2 separate regions of the Homo sapiens genome follow, and region 2 is linked to region 1. The links are contacts of gene promoters, found by promoter capture Hi-C in blood cells and fetal thymus (Javierre and others, 2016). All regions are on one chromosome and are shown on one strand. The core of a region is centred on a gene start or on the middle of the fragment in contact, and the rest is flanking DNA. Distances in the headings are between cores, read along the strand shown. Region 1 holds the start of PRPH (peripherin). Region 2 holds the start of MCRS1 (microspherule protein 1).

Region 1 (4,845 bases), core at 2,263-4,762:
TCGCTTGATCCCAGGAGGTGGAGGTTGCAGTGAGCTGAGATCATGCCACTGCACTCCAGCCTGGGCAACAGAGCAAGACTCTCTCTCAAAAAAAATTTAATTTAATTTAATTTAAAAATAGCACTCTTGCCAGTAACCTAAACTTCGTTACTCACCTTCCCTGCAAACCCCTGAACACATGCAATAGTTGTTTCTCTTCCAGCCTTCATCAGAGCAGCCAAGGGAGGCAGGAGGAGGAGGAGCGATGAGAATACTGGCAAATACTTCTACAGCATGTACTAGGTGCCAAGCACAAGTGCTTTACAGAGGGTAACTCGTTTAATCCTCCCAACACCATGAGGTAAGTACTGTTATTATCATTCCCATTTGTGGATAAAGAAAATGGGGTGGCCAGGCGCGGTGGCTTATGCCTGTAATCCCAGCACTTTGGGAGGCCGAGACAGGTGGATCACGGTCAGGAGATCGAGACCATCCTAGCTAACATGGTGAAGCACCGTCTCTACCAAAAATATGAAAAAATTAGCCGGGCGTGGTAGCAGGCGCCAGTCATCCCAGCTACTCAGGAGGCTGAGGCAGGAGAATGGCGTGAACCCGGGAGGCGGAGCTTGCAGTGAGCTGAGATCGTGCCACTGCACTCCAGCCTGGGCGACAGAGCGAGACTATGTCTCAAAAAAAAAAAAAGGAAGAAAAAAGAAAGAAAGAGAGAAAGAAAGAAAGAAAGAAAATGGGGTGAACAGAGGTTAAGTCACTCAGAAAACCCAAAGCACACAGCTAATTAAGGTGAGCAGCCATGAATGAACCTGCACCATCTGCCCAGAGTCCCGGTCCACCAGGGGAGGATGAGGCCAGGGAGGACTTGGCTTCTTCCGCCTTGGGTCCAAGCACTACTTTCAGCAACCAGGGGCACAGTCCAAAAGAAGCCCAGACTCTCACTGCTCTTGGGGCTGACATTATCACTCTGGAGGTTAATAATAATAGCAATAATAAAACCAGCTTCCATTTTCAGGCTTTAAGATGTGTGTCCTAAGCACTTCACATGTATTTATTTATTCCTTTAGTCCTCCCAACAACACTATGAGGTAGAAGCTACAGTTAGTTATCTCCCTTTTCTTGAGGGACATGAAGGGACGTAGTGACGAGCCTAAATTCTACAACAGAGTGGTGGATCAGATGGGAAGTGTGGCAGCTGGATGCCAGAGCCCGGCTCTTAACCCAGACTCTTTGCCTACCTTTGCTCCGCCTGGAGTTGCTGGCCTGCTCCTTCTGCTTTAGGGGAGGAGCCTCTTCTGCCTGGCAGTTCCCCACCCAGGCCTGATCCACAGCTCCAGAGCCCTGCTGTGGCAGCCCTCTGTCCCTTCTCCTCCGAGGCATGTAGGTGGCCAGCGGAGCCCTTAAGCAGGGTGAGGACGGGAACTCCATCTGGAACTCCCCAGGCCCAGCTGCAGCCCCAGCAGCCTCTACTCTCAGAGGCTTGGGTCCCCCACTAGTGCCCTGTAGACAGGGCCTGAGCTGGTCCTCCCCAGGCCTTGCCCGCCTCTCCTGATGCAGAGCTGGCTCCCTGCTCCTGGAGGGTGGGGCCAAATCCGGGATAGATGGGGCTCCAGGCCAACAGCAGCTGGGGCTCAGTGCCCAGGACTGCGGCAGGAAGCACCAAGGCTTCCCTAGCCCCTCCTCACACCCACCAAGCCTCCCGGCCCTATCCCGGGTGGGACCCTACCCCTCCCAATTCCCAGGAGTTAGGGGAGGCCAAGCTGTCATTTATTCGTCCTGTCCCATCTCTCCCTTCCTCCCGCTTCCCACTCCCCTGGCAACCAAACCAGACCCATCAAGGAGAAGGAACTGGCAGCTGTGCAGGGAGAGACTAATGGCCCGGAAGGAAGGAGGGGCCTGGAAAGGAGACGAAGGCGGTAGGGACGTGAGCAGGGCGTTGGCCCTGGCCCATCTCACAGGACGCACAAAGGGGGGAGGGGGCTGCTGCCCTGCAATACTGAGGAGCTGGCCAGCCAGGGAGCCGCCCTCCTTACCCCCAGCCAGATATCCAGGCAGGAACCTGAAACCTGCTTCCCCAGATGCACTCTCTTGTCCTCAGGTCCCATCTGAGGCAGACCTGTCTCACAGGACAGCGCTGGAGTCCCCAGCAGCAGCAGCAGCCCCAGCCCTATGGTTCCTGGCAAACCCAGCAGACCTCAGCAACCCGGCTCCTGCAGACCATCCGAGCTGCCTCTGTCCACTCCTGGGCAGGTTGTGCTTGCATTCTGGAAGCTGTTTGACATACAAAGGCCAGATATCAGCCTTCTCGCTAACTCTGGAGTAGGGGAGGGTGTGGTGGGATGTGTGATTGTGTGTGTATGTGTGTGTATGTAGTGTGTGTGCGCATAGATATACAAAGCTGTGTGTATGCATCTGTTTGCGTGCGCAGGTTTGTGGACCTGTTCTGGGGCCTTCTCTCTTTCAGACTGCTGGGGATGGGCACTTTCTCTTTCCCCATCTCTTCCCCATCCAGCCCCACCCATCCCTGGTACCTGCAACTCATCAATACTGGAAACCAGCTCCTGCCAGTCCATCCATCTCTCAGCCTTGGCAGCCGCTGTTGCCCCTCAGCCCCCTCCCCTTCCTACCTCAGGAATCACTCTGGTTCCTGTAAAGCCCATGACTGAGCAGCAATTGGTGTGGGGTTGGGGGGAGGGAGAATCCAGTAAACCAAGACAGAATACAAAAGGCCCACTTAGCCCAGCCCGTGGCATGGGGCAGACCCTCCCGAGTGGGATCCAGAGCTGGGTCCAGCCACCCTCAGCCCCCTATGATGTACCCACCTCATTGGGGCTTGTTGCGGGGTAGGTCTAGGTTTGGGGGCTGTGTCTTTAAGGCTGAAACATCAGCAGACAACCTCTGCTGGGCCGTCTTCAGGGGAGGGGGAGGGGGGCTGGTCAGCCCATTAGCAGCAGAGCTGGCGCCAGGCACCAGCCCTTCACAGGGCCCTGGGGATTAGGGAGAGTAGCTCTTCCCCAGCCCGATCTGCCTCTGCGCCCCTGTCTCCTATTCCTCTCTGGGTGTGGTGAAGGAGGGGTAGCTGACAGCAGGTGAAAATAGAGCCTGGCCTTCAGGGGGCAAGTCAAGGCACTAGCTATGGGGCCTAAGCCAGGTCAACTCTCCCTCCAGCTGGCCTCCTCCCTACTCCTGTGCCAGAAGCCTGCCCTTTAACTTCAGGTCCTTCTACCTCGCAATTTTCAGGGACTCTAGTTCAAGTCAGGCCTTCCTACCCTAGGTTCTAGCTTTGGGTGCTTGTTGGGAGGAAGTGACCCCCACCCCAGCGGCAACAGGGGGCAATCAAGTGGGTAGAGGCCTGCAACCAGGGAAGGGAGGGGAAGGCGCTCCTGCTGTTCCGCAGGGGTGGGGCATCCCCCTCCCCATACAACCCCCCTCCAGCGGGCCATCAGGCCAGTGGGAGGAGCTGCCCGTGCCCCCCCTGAGACCGCAGGGCTATAAAGCCGCCTCGCAGCGGTCTGCGGCTCCTTCCCAGCCCCCGGCCTAGCTCTGCGAACGGTGACTGCCCATCCTTGGCCGCAATGAGCCACCACCCGTCGGGCCTCCGGGCCGGCTTCAGCTCCACCTCATACCGCCGTACCTTCGGTCCACCGCCCTCACTATCCCCCGGGGCCTTCTCCTACTCGTCCAGCTCCCGCTTCTCCAGCAGCCGCCTGCTGGGCTCCGCGTCCCCGAGCTCCTCGGTGCGCCTGGGCAGCTTCCGTAGCCCCCGAGCGGGAGCGGGCGCCCTCCTGCGCCTGCCCTCGGAGCGCCTCGACTTCTCCATGGCCGAGGCCCTCAACCAGGAGTTCCTGGCCACGCGCAGCAACGAGAAGCAGGAGCTGCAGGAGCTCAACGACCGCTTCGCCAACTTCATCGAGAAGGTACGCTTTCTGGAGCAGCAGAACGCGGCCCTGCGCGGGGAGCTGAGCCAAGCCCGGGGCCAGGAGCCGGCGCGCGCCGACCAGCTGTGCCAGCAGGAGCTGCGCGAGCTGCGGCGAGAGCTGGAGCTGTTGGGCCGCGAGCGTGACCGGGTGCAGGTGGAGCGCGACGGGCTGGCGGAGGACCTGGCGGCGCTCAAGCAGAGGTCAGGGGGCAGGGCTGGGCCGCTGCCGTCGAGGCGAGGTCGAAGCGGCCGTCGAGGCGGCTGCTCTTGCCTCCCCTCGCTTCCCCTCTCCATCAGCAGCCCAAGGGTGTGGCTCCCCTTACCAACCCAGGTGTGTGCGGGCAGCATCCCTGCCCACGGGCTCCAAGTGCCCCCCGCTACCCCTTTGCTCTGAGTGTTTGGGGAGGTGGGAGAAGTGGGTATCTGTGCCTCCCCTGAGTAATGAGGAAACCCCCTTTTCAGCTCCCAGTCCGTTAGAGACAATGCGGGGCAATTCCATTAGACAGCCTCAGCCCTCCATTTAGAGTCCTGGGCAGCAGAACAGCCTCTAACCGGATCCTGGGGGGCGTGCGGTCTGGGGTGCGAGCTGGGCGGCGACCCCGCAGTTCAGCCTCTGCACGCTCTTCCCGTCAGGTTGGAGGAGGAGACGCGCAAGCGGGAGGACGCGGAGCACAACCTCGTGCTCTTCCGCAAGGTGAGTCCGAGCCCCTCTCCGAGTTCAGCCTCCCCACCGCTACCCCCGATCTCAGTATCCAGAGGTGGCATCGGTGGGCGCGGGGAGAAGGGGGTAACCCAGATGCCTCCTGAGGCAGACAGGGAAGGCCTGGTCCTTCCTTGGTCTGCGCAGCCCCTAACTTATCTTGAACCTCCACTGCCACCCCTCGAAGGACGTGGACGATGCCACTCTGTCCCGCCTGGAACTAGAGCGCAAGATT
Region 2 (4,845 bases), core at 1,364-3,863, 270 kb after region 1:
CTTCTTCTTCTCACTGGAGGAGGGTTCACTCCCCGAACAGCGCCCTGGTTCCACCCCACTGGCCCCCTTTGCCCGGGTAGAAGATTTTGCCAGGCTGCTCTCCACCAGCTCATCATCGAACTTCTTCCTCTTGATGAACCTGTAAAGGGTCCTGCCCAGTGAACACTCCTTACCCCACCCTGGTACCCATTCACACACCCCCAGCCCCCAAAAGAGAGCAGGTGCCCAGTAGGGTGCTATCTGCTCCAGCCTGCTTTCACTTTACGCCACAGCCTGGTTGTGGCCATGGAACTGCTACACTCCAGCCCTCTGAGATGACAGGGTATCACACCACAAAGACTTCACGTCAGAGACCTAAGATCTCCCTCCCCTGCCCTCAGTCCCACAGGGAAGGATTTAGCAGGGACAGGAAAAGCACAAGGCTCTGCCAATACTAAGGCCCCAGAGGGGCTCAGGCAGCCATTCCCAACAGATGGGGAGGCATGTGGCACTTAACGCCACAGACCTTCTACCCTTTCCCAGTTCCTGGCCCTCCGAACCCTTACTACCTGGAGGAGCTTCTCCGTTTAGGGATGGTGCCCAAGGCCTGGGAGGAGGCTCGCTTCTGCCCTGCCAGTGACTCCTCATCCTCTGAGCGGCTGGCAGTGCCTGATGCCATCAGGGATGAATCTAGCAGCCCCTGAGAATCTAGCAAGAGAGAAATGGTGGATTCGGGCCTCCTAAGATCCTAGAGCCTCTGCAAATGGGACCCCTCCCCAGCCCCCTTCCCCTGCCAGCCCTCTTGGCCCCTCCCCTGCCTCCTTGACACTTGAGGTTTTAAGGTAGAGTTCCTTGGCCATCCAGATCCCATCTGGGCTCAGACCTGGCCCAGACCTTCCACGCTGGGCAGTTCCCCCGGTGCCACGTGTCATGTCGTGCAGCACATGGTGCTCAGGTCAGACTGGTGATGCCGACACGCTGGGCTCTGGGCATAACTGCTCCCTCTGCCATCAAAATGCAGCCGTGCTAAAGAGCAGCAGCTCAACAGCAAGTCAGTCAACTGTGGCTCTGCCGACAGGTACATGGGTGGTGCTGGCCCAGGGGGAGGTGGCAAGGCCTAGCCAGGACCGAAAGACACACGTGCCAGGCACAGAGTGGAATCAGCAGATGCTTGGCGCCCGAGCATTTGGGGAGCTGTCCCGGCCTCATACTACCTTTGTCCATCCTCTTACAGTCCCAAAGCCACTGGTTCCAAACCACCGGGCTAGGAGGAACGGTCCCACAGGCTCATCCAAGGATTCTGACCAGGTGAGCTTAAAGGCTGAGAGGAGATTCTGCAAAGGAGAAATGAGGCTCCCTGAGGCTCAGATTTCCAACTGGCCAGCCTCACTTCCTTATACTGGCTCAGGTCCCCCAGGGTCCCATAAGCTAGGGAAGACATAAGGACAGGAAAGAGGCATAAGGCCCCACTCTGCCAATAATAGCCTTAGACATCAGTCTTGTGAAGGTCACTGGCACCTTTCAGAGTATGATAACAGCTATGGACTGCAGAAAAGGGTGCAAACACATACTATTTTAGAGGGTTCATAGACCCTTTAATTCTACTGGTATCTCCTAGGTTAAGCGCCTTGACTATAAACTAGCAAGAGACAAGGGATTCTTTGGCCCACATTTTTCTTTACTTCAGCTGTCCACTCAGCTCAGCAGCACCAGCCTTCCCCTCCCAGGCCAAAGCAGGAAAAAAGAAAGGGAGACAAAACTCCAACCAGTCCATCTCGTTTTTTTTTTGTTTTTCTTTTCCATTTGGGGTTTTTACTGAAGATTTAGTAAGTGGTATTTCCATGAGATACCATCTCGTGGAAACCAAAAACCACTGTTTGGGAACTGCGTGATTATCAACCACGCTGTGCCCCAACAACCCCTAGAGAACCCAGGTACTGGACTTTCTCGGGGCGCTCCTCTCGTGAGTCCCCACTTCTAACCAGGGTGGCTCTTAGCTCAGTGTTCTAGCCCTGTCCCCAGGTGAGCCTGTCGCTCTCCGCTCCATAGGCTACGACTAAGAATCTTGACATCTGAGGAGAGGGCGAAGGGGCCCGAGCTTGCCGGCAAACTGAGGTAGGGTCTGTGCCCCTTCCTTACCGGACCCTCCGCCCCTCGTTCTCCCAAGAGTGCACACCCAAGGTAGGGGATCGGTCCAGGTCTGTCTCAAGAACTCGGGGTAGGAGCATTGATGAAGTCACCTCTGCAACTCAAAGCAGAGCACCAAGTAGCCTTGGTTTGAGACCCACAGGCTGGTGGCTGGGGAGGTGGGGGTAAACTCGCAAGCCCATTCTCACCCCACGGTCTCCATGCCTTTGCGCATGCGTAACACTTCGAGCCAGATTCTAACCCGGTCCGGCCCACGCATGCGCAGCTTTTCGGGGCGCCACTGGGGCGGGGCCCCAAACTTGGGGGGTGGTCGTCCCCGGCGGCACTCTGCAAAACTCCATTTCATCCCCAACTCCTCTGAGAACCCTCAGAGGCGAACCGCGAGGTCTCACCATTCCTAGACTGCCAGATCCAACAATTTCTCCGCGGCGACGGTAGCAGCCGCAGGGCCAAAGCCGGCTTCCGTGAGGTACGTCTACTTCCGGTTAACGAACCAGGGGGCTGGCAATCTCTTCCGGTTCGTCTTGGCAACGTGTGTGAAGGGGGCGTGGCCATGGTACGGAAAGTGTAAATATTTTACCAATAGCGGAAAGTAAAGGCTTTCCTAGTTGGGACAGCATATAGGGAAACGTTAAGGATTATAGGCACCGGAGAGGTAACCCGGCTTGAGGGGTTGGTTAAAGGGAAAGGCGAGACTTAGGGCGAGACCGAGCGGGGCTAATTGAGGCGACCCGGGGAGGGGCGGGACCGCGGACTGGATTTCGACTTCCAAATTCCCACGAGGTATAGGAGTCTGAGGGTTGCACAGGACCTTATGCATTGTTTGACTCCTCCAGAGCCTTTAGAGAAACTTCTATCAGGCCCGCCTGCTAGGCACTAGTCGGGGAGATAATGTAGCCAGGGAGATGTGGCGGACAGAAAGGGCAGAGAGGCTCTCTGAGGAGCGGATGGAGGATCGTGGGCCGCTTTACTGAGAAGGAAGAGACCCTGCGAGAAGGAGTAGTGTCGACTTGGTCCCGTCAGCCGGACCCCACCTGGACGGCTGGGGCCACTTGTGGTCGCCGGGAGGTAAGAGAGAAAACCAATGGAAGCACCTTCAGAGGAGAGTGCCTTGGAAGGAATCTTGGGGTGGGAGAACGAACCTGTCGGAAAAATTGGGAATTTGGGGCTGTGAGAGATGTTCCGGAAAACTAGAAAGACTGTTGTCTAAAAGAGGAATTCTGTTTTATGCTTCCTTTGCGAGGTACTAAAGTCTAGCAGCTATAGAGAGACATACTTCAGCTCAGAATAAGAAAGATTCAGTTCCAAAGCTGTCCATCAGAGGTGTCAAGAACACATAACATGGACATTGCTAGGGAATTCAAGTGTCAAATGAGAGACTGGCCCTTTTGGCCCTGACGGTATACTATGGCCCTCTGCTTCGAGAGTACCAACCTCATTTACTGTTCTGTGGACTTGTTTAATGAGTATGTACTTATTTTAACTCCCATGAAAGAGTGTGTGTTTTATTTTTTAACAGGCACTTGATTAAATATATTATGTAAACTTGTGAAAATATCAGAAAACCAATGAAATTTTTTTTTTTTGAGACAGAGTCCCGCTCCATAGCCCAGGCTGGAGTGCAGTGGCACAATCTCGGCTCACTGCAACCTCCGGCCCCCGGGTCTCGGTTCAGGCAATTCTCCTGCCTCAGCCTCCCGAGTAGCTAGGATTACAGGCACGTGCCACCATGCCCAGCTAAGTTTTTTTTTTTTTTTTTTTGTAGAGACAGGTTTTCACCATGTTGGCCAGGCTGGTCTTGAACTCCTGATCTCATGATCAGGCTGCCTCGGCCTCCCAAAGTGCTGGGATTACAGGCATGAGCCACAGCACCCGGCCTGAAATAATTTTTATAAAAAGTGATTACACAGAACATTAATAATATTAATGTTATTAAATATATATGAATTCATGATAACTATTAAAAACATACAAAGGAAAAGACAGTTGAAGGAAATGCACCAGAATGTTAACACATGTCCAAGTGGTAGTAGTAGTAATTCTTCTCTCTAATTATTTTCCAGTTTTTTAATACATGGTTTTTAAATTTTGTTTTATTTTTTTTGAGACAGAGCCTTCCTCTGTCACCCAGGCTGGAGTGCAGTGGAGCGATCTCGGCTCCTGCAACCTACACCTCCCGGGTTCAAGCGATTCTCATGCCTCAGCCTCCTGAGTAGCTGGGATTGCAGGTGTGCGCCACCATGCCTGGATAATTTTTGTGTTTTTAGTAGAGATGGGGTTTCACTATGTTGACCAGGATGGTCTCAAACTCCTGACCTCAAATGATTCACGCACCTCAGCCTCCCAAAGTGCTGGGATTACAGGTGTGAGCCACTGCGCCCGGCCATATTTTACAATGAAAAAAAAAATAGGTTCTACACAACTTCTTTTTATTGATTGATTGATTTTGAGGCAGAGTCTCGCTCTGTCACCCAGGCTGGAGTACAGTGGCACAATCTCGGCTCACTGCAACCTCCACCTCCTGGGTTCAAGTGATTGTCCTGCCTCAGCCTCACAAGTAGCTGAAATTACAGGTGCCTGCCACCTGCCTGGCTTATTTTTGTATTTTTAGTAGAGACGGGGTTTCGCCATGTTGGCCAGGCTCGTCTCGAACTCCTGGCCTCAAATAATCCACCCGCCTCAGCCTCCCAAAGTGCTGGATTACAGGCGTAAGCCACT

What was found. Contacts are between HindIII fragments. The CHiCAGO score rates a contact against its expected background, and 5 or more counts as called.
Region 2: the fragment with the promoter of MCRS1 here is called in contact with the fragment with the promoter of PRPH in region 1 in 4 of 17 cell types (endothelial precursors, M2 macrophages, erythroblasts and 1 more); the score reaches 12.1 in endothelial precursors.

Annotation. Positions count from the first base shown.
Region 1 is chr12:49,291,635-49,296,479 of GRCh38, forward strand. It overlaps PRPH (peripherin), which reads left to right and starts at 3,513. Exons shown (of 9, transcript NM_006262.4): 1 at 3,513-4,111; 2 at 4,544-4,604; 3 at 4,798-4,845. The coding sequence starts at 3,567. It overlaps TROAP-AS1 (TROAP and PRPH antisense RNA 1), which reads right to left. Exons shown (of 8, transcript NR_120449.1): 6 at 3,626-4,845; 7 at 2,814-2,901; 8 at 997-2,262. RefSeq lists enhancers at 1,005-1,768, 1,769-2,531, 2,611-3,528, 3,529-4,445. The HindIII fragment of the contact is 27,974 bases long and covers 1-4,845 here.
Region 2 is chr12:49,565,529-49,570,373 of GRCh38, forward strand. MCRS1 (microspherule protein 1) reads right to left here and starts at 2,614. Exons shown (of 15, transcript NM_006337.5): 1 at 2,520-2,614; 2 at 1,194-1,313; 3 at 549-687; 4 at 1-139. The coding sequence starts at 1,203. RefSeq lists enhancers at 1,910-2,713, 3,064-3,113. The HindIII fragment of the contact is 9,561 bases long and covers 1-4,845 here.